3 separate regions of the Homo sapiens genome follow, and all the other regions are linked to region 1. Evidence: promoter capture Hi-C in human tissues and cell types (Jung and others, 2019). All regions are on one chromosome and are shown on one strand. Each heading gives the region's core, a stretch centred on a gene start or on the middle of the fragment in contact. The rest is flanking DNA. Distances are from core to core; before and after follow the strand shown.

The links. Contacts are between HindIII fragments. The study calls those that stand out against the background at their distance.
Region 2: a contact is called between a fragment that was not itself captured here and the fragment with the promoter of TPP2 in region 1, in 1 of the 25 tissues and cell types used here (mesenchymal stem cells).
Region 3: a contact is called between a fragment that was not itself captured here and the fragment with the promoter of TPP2 in region 1, in 1 of the 25 tissues and cell types used here (mesenchymal stem cells).

Annotation. Positions count from the first base shown.
Region 1 is chr13:102,594,511-102,599,315 of GRCh38, forward strand. It overlaps TPP2 (tripeptidyl peptidase 2), which reads left to right and starts at 2,476. Exons shown (of 30, transcript NM_001330588.2): 1 at 2,476-2,693. The coding sequence starts at 2,529. It overlaps LOC107984588 (a long non-coding RNA gene), which reads right to left and starts at 2,432. Exons shown (of 2, transcript XR_001749984.3): 1 at 1,938-2,432. RefSeq lists enhancers at 1,910-2,069, 2,120-2,179 and silencers at 2,250-2,539, 2,700-2,989. The HindIII fragment of the contact is 8,618 bases long and covers 1-4,805 here.
Region 2 is chr13:100,823,571-100,828,375 of GRCh38, forward strand. All of the region lies in intron 2 of NALCN-AS1 (NALCN antisense RNA 1), which reads left to right. Among named protein-coding and RNA genes, the nearest start is that of NALCN-AS1, 120 kb to the left of the region's middle. The HindIII fragment of the contact is 3,897 bases long and covers 245-4,141 here.
Region 3 is chr13:104,130,730-104,135,534 of GRCh38, forward strand. LOC105370340 (a long non-coding RNA gene) reads left to right here. Exons shown (of 3, transcript XR_931689.2): 2 at 323-424; 3 at 2,190-3,559. Among named protein-coding and RNA genes, the nearest start is that of LINC01309, 710 kb to the left of the region's middle. The HindIII fragment of the contact is 3,247 bases long and covers 852-4,098 here.

The DNA of each region.
Region 1 (4,805 bases), core at 1,226-3,725:
TGCAGTGAGCCGAGATCCCGCCATTGCACTCCAGCCTGGGCAAGAAGAGCAAAACTCCATCTCAAAAAAAAAAAAAAAAATTGTGACAAATTTAGACTTCATTTTACAGCTGTACAAAGGGATACATAACTTTTTTAAAAACATGTTTATGGGATATGTAAGCAAAAAAAGAAAAATCTGGCCGGGTGCAGTGGCTGATGCCTGTAATCTGAGCACCTTGGGAGGCCGAGGTGGGTGGATCCCCTAAGGTCAGGAGTTCAAGACCAGCCTGGCCAACATGGCGAAACCCCGTCTCTACTAAAAATACAAAAACTAGCCAGGTGTGGTGGCATGCACCTGTAATCCCAGCTACTCGGGAGGCTGAGGCAGGAGAACTGCTTGAACCCGGGAGGCGGAGGTTACAGTTACCCGAGATTGTGACATTGCACTCCAGCCTGGGCCACAGAGTGAGACTCTGTGTCAAAAAAGAAAAAGAAAAGGAAAGGAAAAGAAAAATCTAAAGAACATTGTTACGGCAGTCTAATAAAAAGTCTGCCACCTAGGTTTCATAATAAACTGTTCATTCCCCATTTATTCATTGGGTGATACTCTGGCAAAGTCATGCACATGGTGTGGTAGAACATACTGGGGAGAGATTGTGAGAAGACAAATCCCGTGTTTTCATCAACCTGTTTTGTAATCCATGACAGTCAGTTAACTTTGTTTCTTCATCTATAAAATGAAGTGATTGGACTATGGTTCACTTGAAACTGGGAGCCATTCTGTTCTATCACTATAAGCTCTATACTGAATGTCTTCTGCGAGTTTGTTATTCTGTTTTCGTCTGTGTTAATTTGAAATTCTTTTCTAGAGGTAATGTAAACAGTTGGGAATAAGAAGAAAAACATTCAACTTTTCTTTTTCCTCTGCACTAAAGAGAACATGCTTGTGTAAGACTTATGGACTGAATAAATGATCAAGGAATCAGCTGAAACCATTGCACAGCCATAAGAATAATTTTTGAGACTTAATGGAGGATCTCTGAAATTCTGTGGGTTGGAAACCGCATGCATAAGGCTTTCCTTTATACCAGGTATTCTTAACTTGGTGTCCATAGACAGAATCCAAGGGGTTCAAAAACTTCCGTAGAAAAAAGATACAAACCTCTTAATTTTTTTCACATCAAGTATGAATGTAGGCAAAAACCAGGGTAGTTATGCTGTTATGTCACCAATAAAAATCAGTTCATCGTAGTGCAGTTTTCACCGCTATCTCCAAATAATTATATTCTTCACTATTTTGAAGTTATGGTAGTTTATTAGCCTTGGCCCTAGCTCCTGTTATTTAATGCAAAAGAAGTACACCTGTAACTATACACACACACGTAAAGCTCCTGCTATATAACAAAATTGCCTTTAGTATTTTTGATAACTGCATTTAAACATAATTTATTTCCTGGGTAATCCTATCTATTTCATTGTATGCATTTTAAAACACTGCTTGAGAAATAGGCCTCACCAGATTGCCAAAGGGGTCTTCGGCACAATAAAAGGCTAAGATTACCCTGGCATGAGCATAGACATAAAGATCATTAGAGGACCACTATGCAGCTTGCAGCAACTGACGGCAGGCACTGTGAATCTGGAAAACTGAAAATTATGGCTCTATAATTGAGTGGACAGCCGTAAGGAGCAATCAGAAACTTCAGTGTAAGAGGAAAAAAAAAGATGTTTTTCAGAAATCCCGGAAGCTAAGGATCAGCAGAGGATAGGAGGGGCCCATTTCAGTCTCGTGCTTTGTTACTGGCTACAAAGGCGACGGAATGACCAACAACCCACTTCCTGTTGACTGAAACTATTGCCTGTCTCCACCCTATTGCTCCCCCTCACCACCTCACCCCCATCAAAGGGGCATAACAACACAGGGGAACCCAAAGTCTACACCCCTTAACCTACGACCTTCCAAAATCATGTCCGGAGCTTTCGCCGACACCGCAGACTCCTTAGCGGCTAAGCGTGAGTGCGCCGGCTCCCTTGCCTCGGGTCAGCAGCACCCCGGGGCTGGGGCTCCTGCAGCAGCCGCACCAAAAAGTTTCATCCACAACCTTAAGTTTGGAAACTATCGTTTGCCAAGCGAAGGGTTCCCATTATTCCTGGCTGGCGGTCCATCTCCTTGCCCGTCTCTCGGGGAGTGATTCGGTCCGGGACACCAGGACTCTGCTTGGAGGCCTGCTGTTGCCTAAAAACCCCAAGCGCGGGCCTCTTCAAGGCCCCAGGTTCGAGATCCGAACCCTCCAGTAATGTCCTCAGACTCCTCCCCCTTCACTGCAGCCCGGGCAATACTCGGGCCTAGCTCCTGAGAGCGGCGCCGTTGGCTTACGTAGCAGCACGTGATTGGCCACCGCTCCCTGGCAGGCCGGGATTGGTGGAAGACGGGCCGACCCCGCCCCTCGCCCCCGCCTCCGGCCCGAGGCCGCACGGGTGTCCTCGCGCTGCTAGTCCGCGCGCAGCCTGGCAGTTTGCCGCTTCCTCGTCCTCCATCCTGCGTCCATGGCCACCGCTGCGACTGAGGAGCCCTTCCCTTTTCACGGTCTCCTGCCGAAGAAGGAGACCGGAGCCGCCTCCTTCCTCTGCCGCTACCCGGAGTATGATGGGCGGGGGGTGCTCATCGCAGTCCTGGACACGGGGGTCGACCCGGGGGCTCCGGGCATGCAGGTGAGGCGGCCCCCGAGGGCCCGGGCGCGGGGGCGCGGGCGGCCGGGGACGCGGGTGGGGACACAGTCTCGGAGCCCGGCAGGCCAAAGCCCCGCTCTGCGGCCGAGTCCGGGCCGGGGTGGGCAGCACCGGGGTGGGCAGAGGTCAGAGCCAGGCGCGGGAGGGACGGGCGCCCGCCAAGGGGACTCAACGGCGCACAGTGCCAGGGTCGCTGGGCGGGCGAGGGCCCGGACCCCAGGTTGGGCCGTGGTCCCCCCAGCTCAACAAAAGCAGCGTGCCCGGCGCGGCTGCCTGGGGAAGCCTGGGTCCCCCTTTGGCCCCAGGGACTCCCCTTCCTTCTCGCTTCGGCGCTGCCAGGCCGGACCCCCCAGGCTCCTTCCCTCCACGCCGCCTTCCTCTGCCTACCCCTCGTGCCTCGGACACCGGTCCCAGCCTGACGTTTTTAAAGAGAATTTTACAGCTTTTATCATTGGGGTGGGGTGGAGACACCAGATAGGCAACTGACATGTGAGAACTTAATGTTTAGGGATCGGGAGATTTGGTTTGGGGAAGAATAGTTTGTCTTTAAGCACGAAAGCTGGGTTTCCAGAAGATAACCCAGTCCTCTTCCGGAATTGTTTCCTGTGGTAGTTTTGTGTATTCTATTTTTAAACGGTCTTCTGCAGCGTGTTTGCTTAGGGTCATTGAATCTTGTGGCTTAGTCTTCGTTTACATAAGGAGAATTCAGTTAGGTTTGGTTTTGGCGAGCTTCTCAGACCTTATGAAAATATGCGACTTTTTTTTTTTTAAACCTGAAAACATACGACGGTTTTTAAAAATTACTTAGTTTTTTGCCTTAGGCAACTTTAAAATCTGTAGATTCAAGGTATCATACCAGAAGGTAGTTTTTTTGAAAGTATGTTGTCTCTCGTTAAAAGCATTCTGTTTAAAGTCTTTAAAGTTTAACTTTTGTACTTTTAACCCTTTACTGAAATCCAGTAATAAAATTTCACCGTTATTCAAGATCCATCTCCCAGCATCCCTGACTAATCCTACTGTATGCTGATCTCTCGTTGATCAGCCCCTGGCTATCTTATCCTCCTTTCTACACTAAACACTCATCCTCCTCCCCACAATGTCCCTTCCCTTCTGGATCCTTTATCGTGCTTTCTGATTATTGAGGTAGCATTTTGGAAGTAACGAGGGGGAGTCTGGCCGAATCTGCTTAGAAACCCCTGGGAATCTTGATTCCTGGTGTGTGTTCTTCAGCACCACTCTGGAGTACAGCACATCTTTTGTGAATCAGAAGAGGATCAGGTACTGAATTCCCTCCCGGTAACTGGAGTTATATAGTTGTCGTTGTATTAATAACTTAAAGACTTAGAACAATGACAGCTATCAACTCATTTGGGGCTTTATTACAAAGTAATAATGCTTTTCATTCAGCTGTGGAGTGTGTTTACTTTTTATAGGATGAGTGGGAGGAAAACAGCTGGGATAAGTGGTTCACCGGTTCTTTTGTCAGGATAATAAGAGGGTCAGAAAAGTTTGGAGAAGTGCTGCTTGGTAGAATTTGTTGGTAGAATTTCCAGATCTGTTTCTCACATTATTCTGTTACTCTCTCTAAAGTAACAATAATTTTCACCCCACAGCCTTGTTGTGAAAATTGATTATAAGAGGACTGGCTAATTACATGTGACTTTTTTAAATGCTCAAGAAAAATATTAAACTATTTTGGCAATGATATTTATTCTTTTTTGTATATATAATTTCAACTTTTATTTTAGATTCAGAAGGTAGAAGTACAGGTTTGTTACATGGGGGTATTGCCTGATGTTAAGGTTTGGGGTGTGATTGATCCTGTCACCCAGGTAGTGAGCGTGGTACCCAGTAGGTAGTGTTTCAGTCTTATTTCCACCCCTTCCCTTTGGGATCCCCAGTATCTGTTGTTCCCGTCTTTGTGTCCATGTGTACTCAATATTTAGCTCCCACCATAAGTGAATAGAAGTTTATGCTGGATCTTTCATCACCAACTATTTGGAGGGTAAATATATGTTAGATATTTGCATGTAATAAATATTCAGATGATAAAATATTGAAATAAAATGAAAGCATAAGTCTTCTCTTTTAACA
Region 2 (4,805 bases), core at 943-3,442, 1.8 Mb before region 1:
GAAAGCGTAAAATGTCTCTTTTAGTCATTTCAACCCCAACAACACGTCGAGTTAATGGCTTTCAGCAGCACTGTTTACTACAACTCTAGATTTGCTTTCTATATAGAAAAGCTGGAGCTCACCCTAGAACCCCCAGAGTGCTGTCTGCTTGTAATTTCTCCTAAATACTCTTTATTTTCCCATCTGCCACTTTTTCCTCCCCCATATGATTGTGTGAGGTTTGTGAAGGTGATAAAACACTGGGACATTCCTGAAGCATTGCAGAGCCAGGGCTTCTCAAAACCCTAAAGAATGTTTTAAAATGTATTATTTATTATACCATCTGAGAGTCACATAGCACTTTGATATACTCAATATGATCTTAAAATAATGTTGTGAAGAAGGAAGCTCAGAATGCTTCAATATTGTTTCAAGATCACAGAGGACAAATGCAGATTTTCTTTGTACGTTATCAATTTTCTTTTCACTCTTTTTTGTCAATATCCATTCTCTTTCCATCACCACTTGTGATTCATTTGACGATTATTTACTGTATGTCTTTTTTTTTGGTGTCAGACACTGTGCCAGGGCCTAGTATTTGCACAAAAATATATATTTTTGGCCCCCGCCACAGAAAATATTTTTGTATGGGAAAGGGTCATCATGCAAAGGGTTAATGCAATACTGTGTGATGGAGACCTGAATTAGATGTTATGTACAGGTTGAGGGAATTCTTGGATTGGAAATAGAATGATAAGGAGAGAAAGAAAGAGTGTATGCAAACACGTAGAAATATGAATGCAGATGCAGAGTCTGAGGAATTCTAAGTTGTTCAGTTTTCCAGGGCTGGATTGGAAAGCAGCAGAGACAAAGGTGGGGAGACCACTGGGGCTGACATCCTAGAAAGCCTTGTGCATCATCCCAGGGAGTTTGGACTTTGGTCCTCAAGGCAGCAGGATGTCATTGAAATCCTGTATACAGCAAAGTCACATGATCAGATCCGTTGATTTTATCAAGCTCCCTCTGGGTCTTCTTTGAACCTCTCAAATTGGCACAGATGAAGGAAGACGAATATGCTTCATGTTGGGAAAGAGTGCACCGATGTGGAAATTCTCACAGAATGGTAGCAGAAAAATAAAGTGAAAAATGCTTGCTGGAAAGAAATTTGGCAATGTGTGTTAAGAGACTTGAAAGGGTTTATTCTTTTAACTCAATAGTTCTGTTGCTGCAGATATATTTTAGGAAAACGATCTTAAATAAAAAGAATATTCCAGGGCAAAGTTATTGTTTGGGCAACTACTTTTTATTAATAAGCCACTAGAAACAATCTAAAATGTCCAACAATGAAGTAATAGTTAAGAATACAATGCACTCATAAGTTTATAATGAAGCTGGTGAAAAGTTTTAAATACAGTAATGTCCAGCAATTGCACAATGTTTTTGCTACCCAAGATCCATTTACACTTATCCTGGTGAAAGAGCTGTGCTTTCTGTCTGGATCCAGGATTGGAACATGATGTCCTGGTTAAGCCATCTACCCTGCTCTCAGGGACTGGTTCAGGGGGGATCGTGCAACCTGAGCCAATTTAATCATAATGAATCTCAATAATTATTCTGGAAAGGCTGGGACAAGGATGCACCCATTTTCCTGCTGGATGTGGACAAGTTCGTGGTAATTTGTGATATTGACAACAGAAACCTCATATAAATAGAAATGTTAAAGTGGTATTTAACCAGACCCTGGGAAGAGCAACACTTGATTATTGCCAAAGAACATTTTGGGAAATGTGAAGAGACAGCTGCCCCCTTCACATTATTTATCTTTGGAAGGAATGTCAACTCAGCACCTGATTTATGAATTGAATGAGTAAGTAGAAAAAAGATTATTTATTTTGGAAAATCCTCTTCCTATCCCGAATAATACCTGTGCTATGTAATGTACAACAATGAGATGCTGGAGCAAAATATTAAGAAAGTCCCCAAAGATTCAGAGTTAATCCTCCTGCCACACTCCAGAGTAATCTTTGTTAACTGAAATGGAAAAAGTCATTTTCCCTCTAGACTTGCTGAACTTCTGTGATCAAAGCTCCAGGATTGTAGAATATGAAATTTAGGCAGCAAAAAGCGACTCAGAGTATGAATTTGCTGATTTGACTCATGTGACTTCAAGCCAAGTCTCTTAAAGTTACTTCTAAAAGTGCAGGCTGATTTCCAAACCTGAGTCACTTTAGGCTTCCAGTAAGATGAAGATCAGACAGATCTGACACAATATGGAAATGAATGTGGTAGAACAATTTTTATCCTGGGTGTGCATTTTAGCCTGTATTTGTCTCGGGAATATTTCAAGATGCCTTTGGCTTTTTGGGGGTATTAGGGTTGTAAGTGACCAGCATTCCTCGAGGTCAATGCTATTCTCTGCAAAACACAATAAAAGCTTGCAGGAGGCCGAGGGCTGTATGAGAAAATTAAGTATTGATTGAGGAGTAGATATGATGTTGTGAAATGTAGTTATTAGACTCAATTCAGTGCTGTTAATTTGAGGTCTTGCACTTTCTCAGAAGATTACACCAGTTAACAATACATTATTGAAGTCTGAGGAGTACTCTTACCCCGCCTCATGCTCTCTGCATCCTTTCTCTCAGCTTTGGAAGACTGCTTTGCCCAATCGATATGCTTTTATTGAACACAGGTTTATACAACCAGTCAGCTCAAATATGATCACTTTCAGGAGTTTGCGACGCGTGGCAAAGTCAAATTTCCTTCCAAATAATCTTCTATCAAGAAATCAGAAATCCTGAATTTAATCATCCCCCTTTTCACGTCCCATGAATTATAATAGGACCTCGGAAATGAAGAAGAAAATAAATTCATTCTTTCGCTTTCAGTGGTCCTCTCTGCCCTGCTGCTTCCAGTGGAGTTGAAATAAACAAGATCCCTGAACATGGGAAGGGATCAGAGGTATCTGTAACTAAGAACAACAGATGGAAAAAAAAAAAGTCCTTTATAAAATCTTAGAACTGGAAAGGGCATTAGAAACACCTAGTCCAGTTCTTTCACTTTCTAGATGACTCAATTCATATCTAAAGTGGCTGTGATGCGCTCAGACTTCATAGCTAGTCAGTGGCAGAGCTGGGAAAGTAATTCAGGTGTCCTGACTTCGGTTATTTTCACTATGTATTCTGCCTGCACAACTGCCTCGACTGTGTACAGGGCAAGAATCTGAGTGAACAGTCTCTTTAAGAACAATTGCATTTATAAAAAATTAAATTTACATTAGATAATTTTCTTCCAACCCTTAAATGTCAAACAAAGCTAATATGCAGACTTCTAAGAACCTTGCGCATGGTTTTACAGCATTTTTTTCTAACTTTGTTTTGTAGAGAGGAAAGTTTTTAATTATCTTCACTTTACTGATGACAAAATTAAGACCCAGAAAATCCAAATGGCTTATTTTAAGTGGTATAGCCATTTTGGATAGACAGGTAGATACTCAAACCTAGGTCCTTGTACTCTTAGTTCCGTGTTCCCTTTAATGTTCTCTGCAGCTTCCGTTGCTTACTCTAAAATTTGTCTTCTGGCTGGTGTGTTGGCCACAACTGTAACTCCAGTGCTCAATCTGGAGATCGAGGCAGGAGAATTGCTTGAGGGCATGAGCTTAAGACCAGCCTATGCAACATAGTGAGACCCCGTCTCTACAAAATACAGGTTTTTAAAAATTTGCTGTTTGGTGGTATGTGTTTGTAGTCCCAACTACTCTGGAGACTGTGGAGGGAGGATCACTTGAGCCCAGGAGGCCAAGGCTGCAGTGAGCTATGATGGCACCACTGCACTGCAGCCTGGGCGACAGGTTGTTTCTAAAATTTTTTTTTAAAAATTGTCTTCCTGTAAGACTGAAGCACTTAACACTTCTCTAGTTTTGCTACTCCTTTCCCTAAGCCGTATGCCCTGGAATGGGGCAAATGTTTGCTTAATATTTTAGCCTGTATTCTTAACACCCAAGCTTAAAATCAAAGAGGGAACTCTAATAGTATTTCTGGCTTCTCTGGGCATGGCAAATATTGTGTTAATCACTTTACTTGGTGTTTGCAATCTGTTTCATTGTCGCTAATATGAACATGACATACAATATATGAGTCATTTATTAATCTTGCTAAATTCACATTTGGCAATATTCTTTCCAGCCTGTGCAAGTGAGCACGTACAGCCTCACTTGTGATCAGAACCATGATACCCTAGAAACTGTTTCTTCCTCTGCTGTCTTCTGTGACCAGCTCTTTATTCTCCAACTAAAATCACTCGGTTGACAAGAGCTTCCCGTGTTAAGCTTCCTTCCGAAGTGATTGCAGTTTATCTTTTCCAATCAAAATGGGAACAATTTGTGCTTTCTTATGATTCCAGAGCTGCTATAAATCGGGGTAATAGATTTTTCAGTGCCTAGTAAGATAATTGTGCTGGGGAGAAGATTAAAGTGCATGCTGGGAGCCGTGAATGCTGTGTGCCTCCATCCTCCTGTTCTTGTTGCTTCCAGGACGACCTAGAAAACAAGGCTGGAGAAAGACAGCTTTAAATTCCTCATGCTAAATTAGTTCTGAGATGCTTCTGGGCAAAGACTGCCAACTGAACTCTGTTTTGACAGTAGAAATATTTATAATGAAACATAATGAAGTAAAATTTAAGTCCCAAATTACCCCAACACAGAAGCACTAAAATTGCAATTCTGGTTATAGTGACACCTCCAATTACCAAAATGCGAAATAATTCTCTTTAGAAAATGACTTCATTTTGAGGAAATGAATCCTAGCTAAGGATCATGACACACACACCAG
Region 3 (4,805 bases), core at 1,225-3,724, 1.5 Mb after region 1:
TAAAAGCTGTATTGCCTAAAGTATTTGATGAAACACACCATTCAGAAGTCCTCAGCTCACGAGAAGATTTCCATACTTCAGAAGTCCAGTGATTACAGTGTGTTCTTATGAAAGAGTTTATCTTTCTTTCTTAAAAATCAGATTTGATTATGTTGATAACGTTGGTTTGCTTTTCTTTTATTGTGGCAGTAATACTATTGCAAATATTTAAACACGCATAGCATCTGCAAAATCCACATTATGTTGTCCATAGAATTGAACCCCTGCTCTTTAACAGTTTTATAGGAATAGAAAGCTAAATACTTTCTTGTTTTTAATATAGACGATGAAAATTTTTTGGATAGCATTGAAGAGTTCAAAAGGTCGTATGAAGTGTTTTGCCTGAAGCTTCAGTGAAGTAAAATTGGTTTCTTCTGAGAATAAGGTACAAATATGTTTGTATGATATGATTTTTACAAATCATTGTCTCATAATATTCTATTTTATTTTTACAACAGGGATATGTGGGGGTTGACTCCATGGTTTGACTTAGATTTTAAAATAATGACTATTATTGTAAATAAATTTTGAATTCTAAGGGGACAAAGGAGAAACCAGAAAATCCATTAAAACTTCAATAGAGTTAATGAAATATTATCTTTGCAAACAGGGTAAGCAGAGGAGACCAAAAGTTGGTAGTTCAAGAGAAATGTTGGGGTTATATTTTTTAACTATTAGGATACATTATATTGGCAGATAGGGCAATGAAATACCCAAAGATTACTTCCAGATTGCTACCTTAAGCAACTCATCGTCTAGTTCACTTCTCCATGTTCTCTTTCTGCACCAACACTATACTACTCTTTGATTCACCGAAAGGGACATGTTATTCCACACAGTGAAGGGTCTGTGAGAGACCGAGTCAGCATGAAGAGGAGTGTTCAGGGACCTGTGTGGGACATCATGCCTTGGCTTTCTCCCTATAACCCCATGTAGAGATTTATTATTAAATATTAGAGAAAATGGGTGCATAAATCTACATTTCATTCGATTAGAGAATGTGTATGTCAAGGAAGAAGACCCATTCCCTATTTACCGTCATAGAGGAAGTAAAATAAGAGAGAATTTTATAGAGATAAAAATATAGAAAGACATAGAAAACTCAGAAAGTAATACATTTAACAAGATGTATATGCAAATCTGATTAAAATATTGATAAACCAGAGATAGATTATTCATTTTAAAACTGACAGTAAAAGTTCTTTAGTAGCTTGATTCGATTGCATTTGAAATATAATTCTGTTTTAAATAATTGATTGAGACTAATATTCAGAAGCTTATTTTGTATGTACTGCAAGCAATGTTAGTGAGAGCTCATGAAAACTCAGAGCTATATTCCTTGTTTAATTTGTTTGCTGGTGGAAATACCATGCCTTGGATTAAGTTTTCAAATTACTATAAAAGCTAAGTTTTCAAGTGAATGCAAAGAATGTGAAAATTGGTAGTTCCACACAGCTCTAACTGTCACGCCTTTCTATGAGTGAAAGAACGAGAAGCAGATTCTCCCTATTTGATTATCTATGCATTTATCATCTGTCTTGTCTGCATTTTTCCTCTGAGCAACCTACAGAGGACTGTACAGATAAAAGGTTTTCCATTATATGTAATTTGAAGTAGAACAAATGATATGCAATCATATGCAACGTGAGAAAAATTATGACCATCTCCTCTCCACAGAGACTCACATTTAGCCTCAATTTACTCCCAGAAAGCCTGGGACAGACATCCTTGGTAGTATTCTGAGGGTCAGCAGGTTGGAGAAAGGGAGCTTTCCTACTATGTCAATAGGAACGTGTCAGTCCTCTGCTGGCTTGCATATGTTTTATCCCCACACACTATAGACTTAAGTGGAAAGGAAGACAAAGCACCAACAAAGCACGCAAAGGCTCTGGTCATTTCCCCGTTGTATTGTCTCCCTGCTTTATACCTGAATTTCTAGACATTTTCTGATTTCCATTTACACAGAAATACAAGTGGATATAAAATATTAGCCATTCCCAGGAAGCCAGATGCTTTAGACAAGTTGGGTCTATAAGGAAGAAAGACACACTCAAGTTATAAGAAAAACATGGTGGTGCATTTAGTGTGAAGAGACAGCTTCATCTATGCCCTGGCTCTTGAGAAACTTACTTTTTCTTTTTGCTTTTCAGGTTGTTTAGGCCACCATCCCTGGAACAAATATTATCCCTTCCTGCAATTCCATTGTCTGCCGGTGTTACCGGCAGAGCTACTTTGAGTGCTGGGCAGGAGCTGAAGCCACGATGGGCAGGGGGTTCATTCTGGGGAGTGGCTGGGAGGGGAGATTCTTAGACCTCTGAGCCTGCAGCTCTGAGCTCTGAGTTGAAGCTCTGCTCTCCAAAGCAAGGGTGGCTCAGAAGCGCTTTGGGGTCATCTGTCTTCGCCAGCCTCACCTCACTCTTATTCTCTGAGGATGTTTAGGAAGAAATGAAAATTATGTGGCTTAGTCTCAGCATAGCAAGAACTGTGGGGAAGATCATTAACTTTCTAACCTGATTTCTTCTGTGACTTCAGAGGCTTCCTTAACCTCCAGTTAGAAATTTTTATCAGGCATATTTGATTATTATGTATCAAGTATCTGCCTTGTGCCATTCGCTGTTTGAGGCAGTTAGAAACAGTGATGGGCATGTCAGATGAAACCCTGCTCTGACGGACCTAAAATCCTAGTGAGTGATAATTAATATTTATACTTTATCTTTTCACTTAGTGATTAATGTTCAAAAGAAAAGCACTCATATCAGAATGAGGTACTTATTCTTCAAAAATTATGATAGATTCTCTTTGTATTTTAAAAATATTTTGGTGGTATATAATAGAGTCAGTTTCTTCAACAGAGCTACAAGCTTGATCCCCTTGTTGGGAAATATATGTTACAAGGGCAACATTAGAAACCCCCATGATCCAGTCACCTCCCACCAGGTCCTTCCCCCAACGTTAGGGATTACAACTCAACATGAGATTTGGGTGGGACACGGAGCCAAACCATATCAGTTGTTAACTCAGCTCTCGTGTGCTATATCCTTTCCTTCGTGGGATCCCATTAAAAACATTAAATGAAGAAACATAACAGCCAAGGGAAAGATGGAAGGACCCTTCCACGGAAAAAAAAAATGGAACAAATAGCTTGAAGGAAAATGAGAAGGAAAACCTGTTGAAGGATGACACCGATCTGGAAGAGGATGCCCAGAGTGTAAAGAAGGAGATGGGGATGGGCAACAGGGCTCCAGAGGGCTACCAGGCTGTGCGTTCACAGGTCGGAGGAGCAGAAAATGCGTCCATCGCAACAAGAAGGGGGACTACTGTGAGTGGAAAGCTTGCTCATGGAGAGGGAGACATTCACTCCTCTCACTGTCCCCTATCCCTGCTGTCCCAAGGAGAGAGCACCCCAGTTATGTGATTGAGTGTAGTATTTTTTAAATGTCAGTACTGGTTTGATTTTTAACTAAGTAAAAATGGAAAATTAAACAAAAAGTACAGGGTATCTGTCAACTTCCCAGAACATATCTTTCGGGTCTTGTGTAAAGAAATTGATGTAATCTGCTTTTCTGAGAATACTACATTTTAATTGTTAATTATGATTTAATTAAATTAAAATTTAATTTAATTTTAATAGTTGCTCATGAAGTGAGGAAGAATTTTTGTTATTCAATTTTTTTTTCATTTTTATTTATTTATTTTTTTTGAGACAATGTGTCACTCTTGTTGCCCAGGCTGGAGTGCAATGGCGTGATCTCTGCTCTCTGCAACCTCTGCCTCCCGGGCTCAAGCAATTCTCCTCCCTCAGCCTTCTGAGTAGGTGGAATTACAGGCACCTGCCACCACGCCTAATTTTTTGTATTTTTAGTAGAGACAAGGTTTTGTCATGTTGGCCAGGCTGGTCTCTAACTCCTGACCTCAGGTGATCCACCCACCTCAGCCTCCCAAAGTGCTGGGATTACAGGCATGAACTACCGTGCCCAGCCCTTTGTTATTCAATCTTAAGAGTGTCAGTTGCTGAACAACAAACTTTTAAAAATATTCTAGCTGTAAAAGTAACGCCTTTCACTAGTGAAAATTTACAAAGTAGAAAAAAAATAAGTATAAAACAAAAATTAGCCAGCCATAAGCACTTTATTCAAAAAATAACATTTTATTGATTATCTTTAGGGTTCTTTATTGTATTAAACTTCATATATTTTGAGTTCATAGTGCAAATTACATTTTTTAATATAAGTTAATTCACATATTTTTGTATATTACTAAATATTACTTTGCTTTTCTTGAGACGAGATCTCACTGTGTCCCCCAGGTTGAGTACATTGGCATGATCTTGGCTCACTGCAGCCTTAACCTCCCAGGCTAAAGTCATCCTCCCACTTCATTTTTGTATTTTTTGTAGAGATAGGGTCTCGCTAAGTTACCCTGGCTGGTCTCAAATGCCTGGACTCAAAGGATCCTCCGACTTTGGCCTTCCAAAGTGCTGCAATTACAGGCATGAGCCACTGTACCTGGCCTAAATATTACTTTTATAGTTATTTGATAGTCTATGTTTGAATACATTATAATTTATTTAAGTATGCTACTGTTACTATACTTACAAAGTTGTTTCCAGGCTTACCTCTTCCAAGTTAAGCTATTGTAAGAATCTTTACACAATAATGGGTCTGACTTTAGTGTGGACTCTTAAAATGGATCATGTCATTTAAATAAATGCTTCAAGCCCCTGTTCTATATTCCTAAATTCTTTCCCAGAAATATTACATCATTTA